Linked DNA regions of Homo sapiens: region 2 is linked to region 1. The links are contacts of gene promoters, found by promoter capture Hi-C in human tissues and cell types (Jung and others, 2019). All regions are on one chromosome and are shown on one strand. The core of a region is centred on a gene start or on the middle of the fragment in contact, and the rest is flanking DNA. Distances in the headings are between cores, read along the strand shown.

Region 1 (2,700 bases), core at 121-2,620:
GAAGGCTCCATGCAGTAGGTGGGACAGCAGCGTGGTGCTGGATGCGCAGGGTTGGGAAGGAAAAAGAAAAGGGAAGACCTTCCAAATTGGTGACTGCCGGCTGGGCAGGCAGTGCTGATGGAGTGAGGAAGGGAAGGGTCAAAAGGGCCAAGGTTGATTAGTGGGTGCTGAACTGCGCATATCTTGAATGGCAGATCCAGTGAGTGTGACTGTATTCTGTGAGCATGGGTAGGGACTACAGAGTGTTCACGCTGGAGGTTCTTTTTTTTAGGCAATTTTTTTAAAGTACGCATTTATTTTAGAGATGCATCTGGCTATGTTGACCAAGCTGGAGTGCAGTGGCTATTCACATCCCGGATCGCACACTACAGCCTGTAACTTCTGGGCTCACGCGATCCTCTGCCTCAGCCTCCCAAGCACTTGGGACTACAGGCTCACTGGCGCGCCCAGACTCATCGGAGGTTCTTAGAGCAGTAAGATGATGGGTGCTGAGATTTAGGATTTTTACAATAGACAAGGCAAGCTGATGGGTTGGTGGCTACGGGTTAATTCCCTAGTGACCTGCATCATTATCTTTTGGGAAAACTGCTGTTTGGGGTCTTCCTGGGGACAGCACAGGGCACTCTACCTTAGGGCTACTTCTTCGTGTACATTTTGCAAGGCTTCCCGGATGTGCTTGGGGACCGGCCTGGCTGTGGTGACACAGCCGTTGGTCTGGAGGTCTGCCGATCTCTTCAGCACCTGCCCGTAGTAGGTCTGACCCAGCGTCCCACAGTGGAGTGAGGGGTAGAGAGGGAGAAGAGCTGTGACTGCAGCGCGAGGGCTCCGTCACCACCTCCACCTCCACTTGGCCGACCTCAGTTCCCTGGAAAGGTCGAAGCCTAGACCCTGCCCTACCCCGACTCCAGGAGTCCCGGGGGACAGGGTGCGGGCCAGGCCAGACTTCCATTAGCCTAGGCTCCACTTGGGCCATTCCAGGCCCTACAGCTCTCACCTGCACGTCCTTCTGTATCTCAGCGTCACGAAGTGCAGCCACTGTCGGGAGCGGGAAAGTTAGTTGAAAGGAGAGGGTGCTGAGGGACGGGCATGAGGGAGGGGGCCAGTAAAGGGCAGGCAGCGGGCCGAGGGGTGAGGGGAGGACAAAGGTCTCGAGACACAGCTCGGGGGAGGCGCTCGCGTTCCCGCCTTGCGGGGGCCCAGGGAAGGGGCTGGGGGCTGGGGCGGGGCGCCCAGGGCGCGCACTCACTGTCTCCTCGGCCTGCGACTCAGGGCGCGCACTCACTGTCTCCTCGGCCTGCGACTCAGGGCGCGCACTCACTGTCTCCTCGGCCTGCGACTCAGGACGGCGGGCTCCCGCAGCCAGCTCCTGTGCCGAGGCCCCGCCCAGGCTGGCAGGCTTGCTCCGCCCGCCCATCCCGCTCTAGCCCCTCGCTCAGGCGCCCACCGCCTGACCCGCTGTTCCACTGTCATCCGCGCTGCTCTACAGGCTTTCCAACCAGGAGGTCGGTATCAGCATCCCCCTTGTTCGCTCCACTGCGATTTTCACGGATAAATCTCGTACTCTGATTTAAATGAACACTCACCTATATAATGATCTTCCCCCCTCCCCCTTTTTGGGAATAGAATCATCTTTTCTCGATCTGTTTTTTGAAGTCAAGTTTGTTGAGATATAATTCACATTCCGTGAAATCCATCTTTCTTCAGTGTGCAGTTCTGTGAACTCTGGCAAACGTATATACATCACCAAAACGGAGACCAAAATAGCTCTGGCCCACAAGTTTCTTCGTGCCTCTTTGTAGTAAATTCCCTCTTCCCACCCCTAGCTCCTGGGCAACCACAGATGTTTTCCCTCCCTATAGTTCTGCCTTTTCTAGAATGTCACATAGAGGGAACCATTAACAGTATGTAGCTGTTCCCAGTCTATTTTGGGTTGTATTTAGGAAAGCAACTTTGCTAAATTTATTTTCACCTATAGTAATTTTTGGTCAAGTCACATGTATTTTCCAGGTATTGTCACTTCATCTTGCAGAAAGTTTTTTTTTTAATTTTTAAATTTTTTTGAGACGGTCTCTGTTACCCAGGCCCAACCTCCTGGCTCAAGCGATCCTCCCGCCTCAGCCTCCCAAGTACCTTGGATTACAGGCGTGCACCACCACACCTGGTTAATTTTTGTATTTTTTTATAGAGACGGGATTTCACCATGTTGTCCAGGCTGGTCTCCAACTCCTGGGTTCAAGCAATCCGCCCGCCTCAGCCTCCCAAAGTGTTTGGATTACAGGCATGAGCCACAGTGCCAGGCCCAAAAGTATTTTTTGTTTTTTTAAATATGGAACACTTCACGAATTTGTATGTCATCTTGCGCAGGGGCCATGCAAATCTTCTCTATCATTCCAACTATATGTGCTGCCGAAGCGAGCACCCAAAAGTATTTTTAAATTATTTATTTTTACTTCCACAATTATATGTGTATATCTTGTTTCCCTTTGTGGTTGTAACAAGCATTTCTCTTTTTATAATTTAAATTAAAAAAAAATTTTTAGAGACAGGGTCTCAACTCTGTGGCCCAAGCTTAGCGTCACTGCGCAATCATCTCTGGATCCTTCAACTCTGGCCTCAAGCCATCCTCCCTCCTCAGCCTCCCCAGTAGCTGGGACTACAGGTGCAAGCCACCATGCCCAGCTTGTAACGATCATTTCTATT
Region 2 (2,700 bases), core at 95-2,594, 350 kb before region 1:
AGCCACCGCGCCCGGCTTGAAATAAATCTTTAAAGAAAAAGATAAAGCATTTAAAAAGACAAGTCAAAGTACTTCAGGAACCACATATCCAACACAAGCTTTTTCCTCAAATGAGTTATGTTTGCCTCGCAGTAATAAACTTTTATTTCACTCAAATTACAGCAATAATCTTCCATACATAAGTATCTTTGCTGCCCAATAATTCAAAGGAAAAAAAATCCAAAATGATTAGTAAAGAAAATTGTGAGAATTAACAGACCCTTTAAATTTGTTTTAAATATTTTTGAGGTTTAAAAAGTGCTTAAAGTTTGCCCTAGTAGGAAAACATTATCTGAATGAATACCCTAATGGCAAACCACTGTAAAATGCTTCTGCTACATTTGGGGGACAGGGGTAGGGATTATCTTCAAAGCACCCCAGCTCTCTTGATGAGAAGGTCAGAGGTACACTGGTTTGTATCATTGCAACATCCATAAGGTGATGTAGGTTGCTTTTCCTTCAGAAAAGGCTTTATCAGAAAGGCATTAATCTTGACCTCCAAATTTGGCTGACAATTTACTGATAAGATTCATAACCTTTGTGTTGCTCTGGTATTTTGACATATTTGCTGGGTTCTGAGCCACATCCTGGAAGGCCACCATAACTTCTGGATCCTGCATGGCTGCAAGAACCTCTGGATCACTAAGAATTTCATTGAGTCCAGGCATTCCGGCCGTTCCAGGCATGCCCCCTCCCATTCCAGGCATTCCTCAGGGAAAATTACCAGGCATTCCCCCAGGAAAGCCACCTGGAAAAGAGCCATACTGAGCTCCTGACTGTTGTCTGGCTTCTTTCTCCCTCTGGGCTCTCTCATGTTCTTCTCAAGCCTTCTTAACTTTTCTATGCTTTCTTTGATCTCTTGCTCTTCACGTTTTCGCTCATACTTTCTCTGATGTTCTGCAATTTTCTGTGCCCTAGGTTGAACTTCTTTCAGCATTACACTAGCATCTTCATCATAATCCAATTTACAGGCAAGGGCAAGATCATGGGCTGCTTCTTCCCAGTGGCCTAGAAGTCTGTGTGCTTTCTCTCATCACTTGTAAGGCTGAGCTGAATCAGGATTTATTTCAATGGCTCTGTCACAGTCTCGGATGGCAGCATTTGGCTTCTGTAATTTGATGAAGACACTGGCCCTCTTAGCATACAAAATAGCCAAGCAAGGATTCAGCTTGATGGCATCTGTGAATAAATCAATGGATTTCCGCAGTTCACCATCATTTAGGGCTTCAATAGCAGCCACTTTCTTATCATTTGCCTGATCCATCATCACCTCTGTTATCCCATTTCTTGAGGGACATCAGTGTCTGGTTCAATCACACCTTAATTATCAATTTCTAGCTCACTTTCCTTACTTGATGTTTTGTCTGCCTTTAAGTCTTCCTCTACCTTCCTACTATCAAGTTTTTCTTCTTTGGTATTTTCTTCTGATTTAGCTTTCTGAGTAGTAGGTGGTACTTTACCCCTGTGCTCTCCACCCACTCCCTCAGGAATCTCATTTCCTCGGTGTGCGGAATGCTCAGATCCTGCTTACAAATTTTCACAAAGGCCCAAAACTCGTTCACTTTGCAGGGGTCCATGGTCAGGAGGCAGTATGCGAAGCTGAGGGGCTGCAGCCCAGTTCCAGGCCCAGATGCTGGCTTGGTGTGACCACGCAGAAGGGCCAAACCAATGTATATCTAAATGTACTGACTGATGTCTACCTGTAATTTCTGATCTCCTAAAATAAATAAAATCAAGCTGCAACCCAACCACCTGGGGCACATGTTCTCAGGACCTCCTGAGGCTGTGTCATGGGTCATGGTCCTCACATTTGGCTCAGAATAAATCTCTTCAAATATTTTATGGAGTTTAGTTTTTTTGTTTTGTTTTGTTTTGTTTTTCCTTTGAGACAGAGTCTCGCTCTGTCAGCCAGGCTGAAGTGCAATGGCACTCTCGAGTAGCTGGGATTACAGGTGCGTACCACCATATCCAGCTAATTTTTGTATTTTTAGTAGAGACAGGGTTTCACCATATTGGCCAGGATGGTCTTGAACTCCTGACTTCATGTGATCCACCCACCTCAGCCTCCAAAAGTGCTGGGATTACAGGCATGAGCCACCAGGCCTGGCCTGAATTTGGCTTTTTTCATCAACAATATTATTCTTCATTTTAAGAAAAAGAGAAAATGGCAACATTGAAGAACCCAAAACAGTACATGAATTTCGCTTATCAAGATACAATTTTTTTTTTAAATCCTGCAGGTTTCCTCAACCAGGTTATATGGTCCAAAGGCAAGTCTCCTGGAAAACTAATAGAATGAAACAGAGGGCTTTTTCTGGACCACCACTAAAGAAAGGGTAGTATGGGCGGGCGCGGTGGCTCACGCCTGTAATCCCAGCACTTTGGGAGGCTGAGGCAGGCAGATCACGAGGTCAGGAGATCGAGACCATCCTGGCTGACACGGTGAAACCCTGTCTCTTCTAAAAATACAAAAAATTAGCCGGGCGTAGTGGCGGGCGCCTGTAGTCCCAGCTACTTGGGAGGCTGAGGCAGGAGAATGGCGTGAACCCGGGAGGTGGAGCTTGCAGTGAGCCGAGATCCCGCCACTGCACTCCAGCCTGGGCAACAGAGCGAGACTCCGTCTCAAAAAAAAAAAAAAAAAAAAAAAAAAAAAGCCAGGCG

Evidence for each region. Contacts are between HindIII fragments. The study calls those that stand out against the background at their distance.
Region 2: a contact is called between a fragment that was not itself captured here and the fragment with the promoter of AS3MT in region 1, in 1 of the 25 tissues and cell types used here (mesenchymal stem cells).

The regions. Positions count from the first base shown.
Region 1 is chr10:102,868,140-102,870,839 of GRCh38, reverse strand. It overlaps AS3MT (arsenite methyltransferase), which reads right to left and starts at 1,370. Exons shown (of 11, transcript NM_020682.4): 1 at 1,247-1,370; 2 at 995-1,035; 3 at 629-756. The coding sequence starts at 1,247. It overlaps BORCS7-ASMT (BORCS7-ASMT readthrough (NMD candidate)), which reads right to left. Exons shown (of 15, transcript NR_037644.1): 6 at 995-1,035; 7 at 629-756. It also overlaps the pseudogene LOC124902567. The HindIII fragment of the contact is 5,936 bases long and covers 1-2,700 here.
Region 2 is chr10:103,214,625-103,217,324 of GRCh38, reverse strand. It overlaps the pseudogene ST13P13. Among named protein-coding and RNA genes, the nearest start is that of NT5C2, 23 kb to the right of the region's middle. The HindIII fragment of the contact is 6,509 bases long and covers 1-2,700 here.